Linked DNA regions of Homo sapiens: region 1 is linked to region 2. The links are contacts of gene promoters, found by promoter capture Hi-C in human tissues and cell types (Jung and others, 2019). All regions are on one chromosome and are shown on one strand. Each heading gives the region's core, a stretch centred on a gene start or on the middle of the fragment in contact. The rest is flanking DNA. Distances are from core to core; before and after follow the strand shown.

Region 1 (6,606 bases), core at 1,687-4,186, 52 kb after region 2:
CTTATGAAAATATTGACTGATTTTTCCTCAAAACTATTTATTTAATGTGTGATTCCTTCCCTTCTTTTTTTCTTCTTATGTTGTCAAGCAAGTTCCAGAAGCCCTTCTCTGGCTGCTTGACCTCCTGAAATTGTTCTGACTCAACATTTATGGAACCAAGGAGGAAGGGGGAGGAGCATTTGTAGCCATGGTTGGTGGCCTTCACACAGTCTTTTTAAAAATAAAGTTAAAATTTAAAATGTGTTGTTGTTCAGGAACTGTTTTTCATTTAAATTCTGAGTCTAAATGCCAGTCTAAATACATATGGTCAAGTGACGGTCATGCTAATAACTCATTGTACTTTTCCTTGGTCCTTCTACCTGTGGTCCAGGCTCCTATGGATGAAAATTCCCTGGAGGTATGTGCAGAATGCCAGGACCAGCTGACGTGGGTAGGGGTTAGTTGCAAACTCACATGGATCTGTTGTAAGGGTATTGAGGGTTGGAGGTTATGGGAGTGAATCTACTACAATCTCAGCACATATGTATAGCATGTATGCACTGCACACCTCCCAGAATCCCTTCTAGGCATAGCATAATCTTGGGGAGGGGATCCTGATGCTCTTCTTCATTCTGCCTGTGGCATAGGCCCCTTTGTAACTAAGAACTATCCCAAGTTGTACTGTGGCCTTGGGCTTACTCAAACCAGCTCATTTTTTTCTACCTATCTGGCACCTTGGCTATCCAGAATGCTTGTGGAATGTCATCAACCATGTTTTCTGGATAGCAAATATTTATAAGTTTTAAGCCTTTCTGGAACTGGATTTGGTAATATTTGATGGACAGAGCTGTGAAGGCCAATGATGTAATATAGAGTGATTCACACTAAAGTTGTAGTTGCGCTCCCACTTTCTTTTTCTCTTTCTCCCTTTATCTTTCCTCTCACTTTCTTCCCACTTCTAGAGCTGTGCCCTGGCAATCCTTCCTGTATTGGTCAGCACAAAGAGTTTCCTGCCATTTGTTTCACTGTCATTTCTGGAAAAAGAAGGGAAGTTTGGCCTGCTTTGCCTGCACTGCCTGATTCCCTTGCATGAAGCCACAGGGAATTCTCATTACCACTGCCCATATGCACAGACGCAGCCTCTGGCTTCTGCCCGAGAGGACATGGGGAGAGTTGCTGCCAGCAGCTCAGGCTGAGCCCCTCTCCTGCTGACCGCTTCACTCTATGTGCTGCCTGGGCAGGGGGAGGCGGAGGAGGGTGGTATGGCGCACACAGCTTTCAACAAGGACTGGAGAGTGGAAATCCTACTGATGGTGGGAAGTCAGGCAGAGGCAGCCAAACCACTAGCCATCTCATCTCTGGGAGGTACCAGGCACTGTGTATTCTGGATATATTGTGGTGTGAGTGCCACCAACAGGCTGTTGGGGATATTCAGAGCCCATCCTGTGCTGACTACATTTGGGAAGGAGCCATCACTGTGTTATACAGGAAAATACAGAAAGAGCAAACTAGCAATCAAGTTGAGCTTTTCTGAGAGTGTATTGGTTAGCTATAGCTACAGGACTGTTGCATAACAAAGCATCCTAGAACTAAAGACTTAAAAAAGCCAAACACTTATTCTCACCCTTGGGTCTCTGGGTGGGCAGGGGCAACTTTGTTTCAGACTATGGGTCACCTGGACTTACCCAGGCTTCAGGCGGGGTCCAGGTATTGTTCCACATTCTTTTTGGATCAAGAGCCACTTAGATGTGTTCTCATGGAGAATGACAGAAGCCAAACCACACACTCACATTTACTCACATTCCACTGCCCAAACAAGTCATATGGTGAACCCAACCTAAGTGGAAGAGGGAAATTTATATCCAAAGGGAGGGGCAACAGGAGAGTGACTATTTATTAAGTGATAATCTAAAATATCACACAAGGTTACACATCTACAATTTCCATTAACCTGAGCTCTGGAGACTAGATGAACAGGTGGGAGGAAGAAGGTTGGAGGAGTAAAGGATGTCTGATGGGTGGGTATGAATTTAGTGTGGGGAGAGCTTAGGGATACAGGTTCAGACAGGAGCTGGGCAATGAGAAAGCTGACTTTTTCTGTACGCACGTCTGGGACATGGTTTTCACAAATGACGTTCATGCTAGTAACGCATTGTACTTCTCCTTGGTCCTTCCTCCTGTGGTCCGGGCTCCTATGGATGGAAATTCTCTGGAGGTGTGTGCAGAATGTCAGGACCAGGGCTGTGCTCGTTTTGCATGTGCTATGGCTCTTGGTTGGTCACTCCTTGGCTCACTCACCATATCATATCTCATTGGCCCTAACTCTGGAGTCTTGGTACTTAACCTGCTGTGGTTTTCAAAGAACTGTGAATGTGGGCTGTGTGCCCATGAGTGAGACCAATAATAAAGATAAAAAGAAGCCAGATTCAAGTTGGATACTGCCAGTACTTTTGTCAGATTTCTGTATCTCTGTGTTTCTTTGGAGCAACTGATGGATATCCAATTTGACGTTTTCACTGTGGAATGTGTAGTTAGCTAAGCTCTGCCCAGGAGCTGTGTCAGAAAGGACAGTGGTTGTAGGGACTCCTCTGCTTCATGATACTTAGCCCCTCTTCTTGCTTTGGCCCTGAGTGGAGAGGTTTATTTTAAAATGTGATATTTGGCCTACTGGGTCCTTTCATACTTAAGCTTCAAGATTCTCTGCTTGATGTCTTTGTTCCCTCTCACGCTTGCTTTCTAGAACATTCCATCCCAGATGGTGTTATATGTCATAAGTTTGTCTCCCTTCATCTCTCTTTCCTCTCCCCTTTGCTCAGTCATAAATTTCCAGTGGAGGGGCCCTTTCTCCAGGATCCTGCCACTGCTGGGTGGCAATATGTGTCGACGAGTCCATCGACCCCATTACCTGGGAAGTGTGCTATTTAGCTAAATTACCGCTACCTGTTGACTAGTCCAACTGCACATGTCTCTCACCTTCCTTTCTGTGTTTCCTTTCACTAGCACCTACTATGTGCTGGGCACCTGAGACACACAGACATACACACGCAAGAGAGACAGACACACTCCTTGATCTCAGGGAGGGGGCACTCTCTAGAGGGCCCAAGAGACAAGGAATAGAGATCCTTATAATGCAAAGTGGTAAGTGTAGAGTGATGAAACAATGTGCAGGTTATAACTGGAGCATGAGGTAGATGCACCCAGCCTGCTGTGGGGCAGGTGGTGGGGGAAGGTGCATGACAGGTGTCTGGAAGGAGATGATGCCTGAGCAGATTTGGCAGACGAGGAGAGGGGAAGTTTTCCAGGCTGATGGGACAATCTGAGTAAAGGCACCAGACAAGGAAGAGGATGCCAGGCACCAGGGAGAAAAAAGAAGTTCAGCATTGCTAGATTATGAAGGTCCAGACAGGGACTAGCAGGTGATGAGGCAGGGAAGGGCAACGAGGGTCAGATCATGGAGATCCTTGGATATCATGGAAGGGACTTGGGTTTAGGGATCTTTGAAAAGCTTGAAGCAGGGGAATGACATGGTAAGATTTGCATTGTGTTTATATAAGAACATTAACCATGTGCAGTTAATTCTTAATTATCTGGGTCGAGGGAGTAGAAATAAGTAGAAATGAGCAGACCCAATCATAACTGATTTTCATCTTTGACTGTATATCCAAACCAGTCCTGCATGCTCCTGATGACCAAGTTTAGAAGTGGCATATCTTGGGTGACATAGTCCCCAAACAGGAAATGTGTTGTTTATATAAATAATTGAGAGAAGCCTGAACCAACTCTCATGGTTATTGAGTTCCTTTTTCTTTCTGAGACTGGACTACAATCTTGGAGGACAAGATATTTTTGGGGTGGGAGAGGCTAAAGTTTATATGACACTTGCCCTAAGCCAGGCACATACCATGGGCTTTCTGATCCCATGAGATGGGCTCTATTATTGTTCCCACTTTATAGATGAGGAAACCGAGGCCTGGAGAGGTTAAGTAACTTTCCCAGGGTTACCCTATTAGTAAAGAGTGGAGCCTGGCTTCACCACCTCCATTCTGATCACCTCCAGAACTGAGGATCAGTAGAACCAGTAGAACTGAGGATTAAACCAATGTGTAATGTAGTGACCACCGTGACCCTTTCCTTTCTCAGGCCCAGGGTTTGTGCACCTTAGATGAAGGGTGTAATAAACTTTGCAATTTAAGAAAACAACAATCTCTGGCGTGGGGTAATCCCACCCATATACTAGATATAATATCTGCGTGGAAGATATGGAAAGCTTTATACTCTGTTCCTACTGCTTTAAAGTCCACCCCAGCCTCCACAGCTTGGAATGAGGCTGTTTAGAAAAATAATTGTTAGAGCAGAGGGGTCTTAGGATCTAGCAGGAGGCTGACTCTGGGGGAAGTGGCTTCCTTCCTGGTCTTACCTTGGCCCTTTACATTCCTGTCCAGTACCCGCCTACTTCCCATCATGCTTTGCGTCCCTGGGACCCAGAGGGCTGGTGGTCTGAGTGAAGGATAACTGACTGCAGGCGTAGGCGATGTCTGGAGGAACAAGTCATTGGGCTGCCGAAGCCAAGTCCGTGACCAGCACAATCCCAGGAGGGCCAGCAGTTTGTGGTTACTTGGCCACTCTTCCAGCTGAGGAATGTACTTCCCCCTTCTCATCTGTCTTGTGCTTTTGTAAATTTTGACGAGGATCAATGAACAACCCAAAGCACCAGAGTGGGTACAAGGTCAGCCAACCATGAAGCGTTCCCAGCCCCCAGCACATTGGGAAGAAGTAAGATGCCACTTCTGAGCCATAAAGGAGATGATCACTTTTGTGGATAAATGCAGCAGAAACACTGTGGGCTATGGAATGGTGGAAGCACAGGGAGCAGGTCCCAGATTTACCTTAAGGTTCAGGAGCATCTTGGAGTTCTCTGACTGTTTTGTGTGGTAATTTTGGCACACAAGGAGCGTTCTCACTAGCTCAACATTCCTGGTTTTGGACCAAGATGCATGAAAATTATACATTATCTTTCTCCTCAAAGCTTGAAAAGTCTTGAGTGTTTCATTATGATTATTTATACTCTATCCTTCCAAAGAAGATTTGAAGCAATTTATAATGAAGACAAAGATATAATAAGATGATTGTAAAAAGAATAGAAGAATAACAGCAAAGTAATGAAGGGAGTAGTGTGGAGCAAGAAGTGTTCCAAACAACATAGGCTAAGGGGATCATTTCAGTTAAGCACATGAAACCTAGTTCTGAGCTTCCTAGAAGCTGGGAGGAAAATCAACTATGCTGAGTTACAGGAGGCTACATTTCTAGCAACTGGTAGCCTCCTCACATACCTAGAGAGAAAAACCTAACCCTGGCACTTTTCTCTAAGGAGGAGGAAACATAAGGATGATTGTCCTAGGGTCATTGAGCAATTAGACAGCAATAAAAATGACCTTACCAAAAATTCAGTGGTAGTGCTGTGTCATTCGTCTTCATTATGGCCAGGTGAAGTAAAAGTGATTGTTTAGGCACAGATGGTTTTGATGGATAGAAGTGGAAACTGAAGGCAAGGACATGGATCGTCATTGCAAAGGGTAGTGAATGAGTGAGGAGGAAGATTTTGAACAGAAGCAATGTCAGCATCACCAGCCACATCTCAGAACATTCTCTGCTTTCTTTTCTTTTCTTTCTTTTTTTTCCTTTATTTTATTTTATTTTTTTTGATGGAGTCTCACTCTGTTGCCCAGGCTGGAGTACAGTGGTGTGATCTTGGCTTACTGCAACCTCCATCTCCTGGGTTCAAGCAACTCTCCTGCCTCAGCCACCTGAGTAGCTGGGATTACACGCATGCACCACAACACCCGGCTAATTTTTGTATTTTTAGTAGAGATGGGGTTTCTCCATGTTGGCGAGGCTGGTCTTGAACTCCTGACCTCAGGTGATCCACCCCGCCCCCCACCGGCCTCCCAATGTTCTGAGATTACAGGTGTGAGCCACCACACCCAGCCTCATTCTCTTCTTTCACTAGTACAGAGGGAGGGAAAGCAGAAAAGGGGGTTTGGGAGACTTGGTTTCTTATTGTCTCTGCTGTTTTGAGTGTCTGTCTGTGTGAACTTGGGGAAGTCACTTAATTGTGGTTGAGCAAAATTCAGGCCTTACAGTTTCTTCCTCTGTAAAACAAGAAGACGAATGATGTTTTGAAGATCCCTTTGTACTCCAGCATTCTATGAGTTGATATTCCCCCCACCCCCAACCAATAGCTATAAACTTAAGTGGAACCAAGTGAAATAAGTCATCTCACAAGGAAATACTTCACCTTGAAAAAGTAAGTGGCTTTCCAGGGATAAATAACTTGGCAACAGTTTAGAACAAAAGAAAAAGAAAAGAACCAGTTTGTTCTTTCATTCTTCTTATTCTTGTTCTTGTTTTGTTTTGTTTCTGTGTTCACTATCCTCATTGCTTGATTTTGTTTTCTTTTAAAAGTACATCTTGGAACCTGGCTGTCATTTTTGACACTGGAGGAGCATATTTAGCAGCGCATTCTCACCTTTTATGTTTGTTTGTTTTTTAACACCAAATTTCCTCAGATTGGAAGCTGCCTGTCTGGGTAAACAGGGAGAAGGGCACTTCTTGGAATGGGCATTGAGT
Region 2 (6,513 bases), core at 2,816-5,315:
TAAACAAATAACACAATTTTCCCTTTGTATTTCCCTTAATAAAACACAGAAATGAGAGCGAGAAAAGGAAAGTAAAAAAATGTGTTCCTGTCATCTCCACTCTATAGCAGGATGTCTGTCCTCCTCCCTTTTTTCTTCCCTCTCACCAAGCATTGGTCTCTCCTCTACCCTCACTCCTCTCCCTAAATCTCAGCCACAAAGACTCATGTATCTGATATTTTTGCTTCTCTGTTTTCTGCCATAGAAGGGGTAACTCCACAGCTATTTGGCATGTCCCACCCCCATCTTCTACAAATCGCTATTGGACTGAAGACAGATGACAGAATTGGAACAGGATCAGGGAAACCTTCTACTTGGAGAAGTATCCCCAAGTTACAAGGTCTTGCTACCCCTGGGACCCACAGATACACCCATTGATTGGTCCTGGCCTGTCTTCCTCCAGTGATGGCGCTTCCAGACCAGCTTGGCAAGGGCCACATATTTCTCTCTCAAAACAAGGCACTAGGCTTAAGACATAGTTCCTGGATCTCTTGGGATCTGCTTGAAGTTGCAAGATTTCTGATACAACAGCTACCTGTCTCTTAGCAGGGATAAATTTCACACTTGGATTCAAACATCAATTGTACAAACGCGATATGGCAGAGATGGGCCCTACCAGCAGACCATGTGGAAAAGGACTGAGGAGGTTTTATTAATGACACATAAGTGTGAGTCAACAGCAGCCATTGAAATGCACACAAGGCCGGGCGTGGTAGCTTACACCTGTAATCCCAGCACTTTGGGAGGCTGAGGCGGGTGGATCAAGAGGTCAGGAGATCTAGACCATCCTGGCTAACACGGTGAAAACCCATCTCTACTAAAAAGACAAAAAAATTAGCTGGGCGTGGTGGTGGATGCCTCGGGAGGCTGAGGCAGGAGAATGGCTTGAACCCGGGAGGCGGAGCTTGCAGTGAGCCGAGATCGCACCACTGCACTTCAGCCTGGGCGGCACAGAGAGACTCCATCTCAAAAAAAAAAAAAAAAAAAAAAAAAAAAAGAAAATGCTCATACAAAATCAGGAACATTAATGGGTGTTATATTGCTTGAGAAACACCCTGAATACACTATCACTGGAAACTCACAGCAGGCCTGGGTGCCATAATTTATAAGAGACAGGAAAACTGGATCAGATTCGAAGACTGGGCAGGAGAGTGAGGCCAGCTCTGCCTTCATCTAAAAGTTTTAGAGGCAGGATTTGACTTCCTGAATGGCTAGCCCCGAGGAATCAATGGAACAGAGGGTGGAAACTTTAGGGAAATGAATTTTGATCCATTACAAACTAAATGGTTGGACCACATGAGCTTTAAAATCATTTCCAACTCTAAACGTGTAATCTTTTGAGTCCCCTCTGAAGCCTATTCACCTCATTCCCATGTATTCTCAGAGTACTTCTTTTTGATAAAAGGGAGAAGATGGCTGATTCTTCATAAATGGCTTCTGGGCAGTGGCTCTGTGGCATCTTCTTTCATTTAAAAGGTAAAATAAAAGTGTTTGAGTTTAAATCACAAGGAAAAACACGAGGCATGGTTAGGAGGATCTTTCATAGAGGGGTCAGAATGATCCACCTGTGATCGTCTCACCCATCCATGTCACTGAGTTGGATAAGGCCAAACTGAAACAATCCTTGGGTAGGAATGGGATTCATGACTCCTACTTCATTGAAAGAGGGCAAATAAATCACAAAAGAGAAAACTCCGAATAAATAAGTTTTATCTTTATTGGTTTAGACACATCACTTAAACACATCAGCCAAGACTATACCTAGGCAACCACTGCTCAGCACCTCATATGGATCTGTTGGTTCTACTGCCTACCCCACTGGCCAAAGCTACCCCACTGCCTACCCCACTGGACTGGTTTCACAGACTTTAGACTGTGAGGGCCTGACCAACCACATAATGTAGACCCTTCATTCCAGAGAGGTATTGACATCTAAAGAGGTGAACTGATGGCCCAGACCAATTCAGTGGCAAAGCTGGGAATGGAACGGAGGTCCTTTGATTCCTGACCCTTCACTGCAGTGCCTTCTGACTGTAGTGAGAGTTCTATTCATTCCTCAACCAAGTAAAAGGCATTTGTTCATCAATTGTATGTGTCTAGGTCTGCACTAAAAGTGATATGACTTATGATGTGATTTTTGAGGCACCGTCCCCATCCTGAAGTGCCCAATGGCTGGGGAGACATTCTCACCAAAAACCTGTGTGATCTACACTAATCAAGCGGCCTTGTGGGTGGATGTAAGAATTGTTTGAAAGATTTGAGTTTCAGGTCAAATGACAATCTATCTACTTTCAGGATATTCACTAAAAGGAATAGTCTTACCACTAGTTAAAATGTATTTCATATATTTCATATAAGACCTTTAGTGAAACCAAAATTCTGCCGGGTATTTACATAAAAACATTCCTTATGGTTGTATCTGCCCTATTCCATTTTTTTCTTGCTTAACTTCTATTTCACATATTATCCTAATAATACTTGTAGTTTGTATTTTTTTACACCCTGCTCTACCTGGGGTGACAGAAAGGACAGAGGTCAGGTGTTAGGAGACATGCCACTAGCCATCTGGGCAACATCAGGGAAATCTCCCAGCCGTGCTAAGCTCCAAAGATTCATCTGAAACAAAAGATAAAACTGTTCTGCCTACCTCACAGGTTTGCTGTAAAGATCAAGCAAAATCATGTATGTGAAAATGCCTGTAAAGCAGCATTCGAATATAACGTATTAGCCTCTTTGCCATTTCCCCTCTTTCTTCTGGAGTCATATTCAGTGTTTGGCTTGTGCCTGCTGGCAGAAAGCACTTAGAATGGCTTTTTTAGTGCTTAGTGGGGTCGCTGCTCCTAAGCACATTAGAGCAAGTTGCTGCCAGCACTTTTTCTTTAGGAATAAAGAAGTGGCTCTGTCTTTGGAGGAGGTAATAGAAAAACCCTGGCTATGTGGCATCTCCTCTGCCTGAGTTCACCATGTCAAACGGCCTGCCAATTTCATCTCAGTTCAGTTCAGTTTAGGAACTGAAGGTGCCCCAGAGAATCACACTGAATTGAACTGAACCTTCCCATGGTATTCAGATGATGGGACTCGGATTCCATGAATTCCCTTCCATTTCCCTCAACTGTAAGATTGGGACAACAATTGTCTCCACTTCATGGGGGTTGTTGTAAAGATTAAATGAGGTGACTGTGTAACAAAGCTGGCACAAAATAAACGATAAACGCTAGCCAGCATTGTAATTTATTTATTGAGCATCCACTTGGGGTCACACAACATGCTTACCTCCTGGGCTATACAGACGGATAAGGCCTTATTCCTGCTCTGGAGGGGGCTAAAGGTCTGTTATTGTAAATTAAAGTTAGGAGGTGCAGATAATTCACATTTCTCCCCAGATACTTTGTTCCCCTAACAATGTCCCTTTACCTGATTTCCTGTTGAGTGTCATTGCAAGTTCATCATCTGGGGGGCAGATCCCACCTAGTGTCTCCCAAGAGCATGATTCTTAGGCCGTGAGTCCCATGGCCTCTGTACGCCCCATGAGTGAATATGGTTCGACCTTAAAGGAAGTTGGAAACTGGCATGAGCCCTCGGGTGATGAGGGGTTTGAGGAGCTAGGAGCTGCTGGGCCCACATCTACTGGCGCTAAACAGCTTCTCAGCGCTTCCCGGGGCCCGGGTAAGGATTGCAGCGCTTTTATAGCAGCAGTTGGAGAGCGGCGGGGGAATCCTCGTGGCGGCACCGCTGTCCAGGAGGCGCCGACATCTCCGCAAAGGCCCAGTCGGGGTGAGGGGCACTGGGGGGCGACCGGGCCAGAGCGCCCCGAGGTAACAGTTACACGTGGAGGGGAGGAAACTTAGCGTGTCCGAGAGCTCCCAGAGGCGGAGGGGCTCAGAGGGCAGCGGCCGTGTGGTGGCCGCGCAGCCAGGCTGGGAAAGGGAGCACCACGGCCCCGCCACGGGACGCGCTGCCAGCCCCCCGCCCAGCGCACCCCACCCCCTCTCCGCCGCCGCGCACGCAGCGCCGCGGCCCCTGTCAGAAGCTGCAGGATCCGCCCCGGCGAAGCAGGGCCGACTCGCACCCAGGACCCTGGGCCTCTGCCTTCCCTCCTAGCCTTGGAGAAGCAACTGGCCCTCTCCTCCCGCTGAGGAGCGACGCGGGCTGGTAGGACGTCCCGGGAAGGCCGGCAGCTCGCGACCACGTCCCGGCCCAGCCTGGGCGCGCCGAGGAGCAGAGCCAGCGGCCGGCGTTCGCTCCGGCTCCCTCCCCGGCGCTCCGAAGCCGAGGGCGGCTCCTCCGGCTGCAGTCTCGGGGGCGACGCCTTCCCGGGCAGAAGCTTCCAGCAGCGCTCCGCAACTTCTCTCTGCTCCAGTCACTGGGAGAGAGCTCGCCTACCAGGTAAGTAAGGCTGCCCGTGCCTAGGCTGTGGCTCGGGCGGGCGTGTTTCTGAAAGTTGACTTGAAATGCATCCAAGAGTGAGCCGGGCCAGCCGGGGCTCCTCCCCGAGGCGACTCTTTTGCTTCTGCAGACATTCCCGGCACTGGCCGACTGGCGGGAGGACCTCCCCGCGCGCCCCGCACACCGGCTCCTGCGCGCACCCCAACAGAGCGCAGCGCCAGGAGTCCAGAAGCGGGCGGGACGCCCTCCGGGTCCCTTACAGTGCCCCTTCTCGACCTGGGGCAGGTGAGGGCCGCAACGGGGCGGCTGGGACGCGGGATTGCAAACCCCATCGTCCCGCGTGCCTGGACCCGGTCGCTCGAGGGAGGGTACCCACTCTTTATATACCCAATATACCCCAGTAGCTGCGTTCCTGCAGAGACGTCCCGAGGGCCCACCTTCGTATAGGTTGGGGCGGAGTCGGATTCGGGATGGAAAACCTGGGGCAAGGGATGTAGGTGGGGGTGAGGGGGGCAGGAGAAGGAGAAACGCAGTTGGGGGGCGGAGGCCTAAGTACATAACGTGTTGACTTCAAGTGAAATCAGATCAGCCAGAGCAGTTCGCTGTGACTGATCTCTCCTCCCACCCTACATTCTCTTGGCTGGACCCTATCCTCCTGGCTGATTCTGGTCGCCCTGGACACTCCCTCAGTTCTTTCCCAGGAGTGCGGTGGCTGCTGGCGCCGAGTCCCAGCGGGCACGGACGTCAGACGCATCGTTTCTTCTCCTCTACAGGTCCTCCCGGCCCGGCCCGAACATGCTGGACGGCCTAAAGATGGAGGAGAACTTCCAAAGCGCGATCGACACCTCGGCCTCCTTCTCCTCGCTGCTGGGTGAGTGTTCAGGCCGTGCGTCCTGGGCGCACTCTCTTTCCGCTTGGCGCTGAGCTCTGGAGCCCCGCTCTCTGGGACCTGGTCCGCGATAGGGAAGCTAGCGCCCCTCTTCATACACTAAATTGAGCCCCATCACTATCTGTCCGTCAGTGCTTGTGGGTCGTCCCTACCCAAATAAATCCAACAAGCCGCCCCAGGCCTCACGCACTGGGCACCGAATTCCCCAAAGCCGCGAGGGGCGGGCGAGCTTGTTCGTAGGCGTCTGAGTGGCAAGTGATTAAAAATACCCAGGGCTGGATTTTTAATCTCGGAGCTGATCGACGTCTCATAAATGCCGCCCTCTTCTCGCGGCCTAGAGGCAATAGCATCCGAGACCCGAGGCCTGGAGCGCCCAAGTTCGAGGAGGCTTCTCTCCCCCACCAACTCCAGCCCCAATTTCAGCCATGGGCAAGGCCGAGAGAGACTTTTCTGGGCCAGTAGGCAACGCAGCGCGGGGATTAGACCGCGCGGCTGGGCCCTAGGCTCCGCGTTAATTAACTGGAGCTGGATGTCGGGTCCTGTGGGTCCCCCCTCACAACTCCTTTGCAGCGACAGAGGAGGAGCAGCGAGTCAAGGACCCCGGAAGAGTGTCCACACACGGGTCTTGCAGAGCTGAAGCCAGAGATTCTGGTTACGGCTCCCCCACCCACTCTGCCCTTGGAGCTTTTCAAGTTTGGGAAGCCCGTATTTTATTTTATTTTATTTTATTTATTTATTTTTAGCAGGAGGGAGTTTTCCTTCTGTCCTTTAAACCTCTTGCCTCTTTCACTCGGAACCGCTAGAGCGGCATGAATGTGGAGGATGAGACAGTTCTGCTGGAGAAACCAAATCCAGTGAGGAATCTCCCCACCCCCAACACCCTAGATGAAACGAAATCACGTGCACTGAGCGCCCCTCTTTGAACCCCCCTTTCGGGAACTTTTGGACTTGCCCAGCCTCGGAAGAGAGCGGAAGCCAGAGCAGGCAGTACCCGGGCGGGCAGCGGGTGCGGATTTATGTATACAGCGGGCGTCGCTTTTTACTCTGTGTCCTCCGCTCGGCCCACGTTCGCTCTCAACGTGGCCCAGGACGCCGAGACCCTACCGAAAGAAAATAGAATTGTAAAATTGGGATCTATCTCGCTGCTTCTCCTAACCTTCCTCATCCGCTCCCAAAGCGACCGGCCCAGCTCCCGAGCC

The links. Contacts are between HindIII fragments. The study calls those that stand out against the background at their distance.
Region 1: a contact is called between a fragment that was not itself captured here and the fragment with the promoter of LMX1A in region 2, in 1 of the 25 tissues and cell types used here (H1 embryonic stem cells).

What each region holds. Positions count from the first base shown.
Region 1 is chr1:165,301,516-165,308,121 of GRCh38, reverse strand. All of the region lies in intron 3 of LMX1A (LIM homeobox transcription factor 1 alpha), which reads left to right. Among named protein-coding and RNA genes, the nearest start is that of LMX1A, 52 kb to the left of the region's middle. RefSeq lists a cis regulatory region at 2,775 and an enhancer at 2,691-2,860. The HindIII fragment of the contact is 3,381 bases long and covers 1,246-4,626 here.
Region 2 is chr1:165,354,267-165,360,779 of GRCh38, reverse strand. It overlaps LMX1A (LIM homeobox transcription factor 1 alpha), which reads left to right and starts at 4,065. Exons shown (of 9, transcript NM_177398.4): 1 at 4,065-4,425; 2 at 5,199-5,296. The coding sequence starts at 5,221. The HindIII fragment of the contact is 8,258 bases long and covers 1-6,513 here.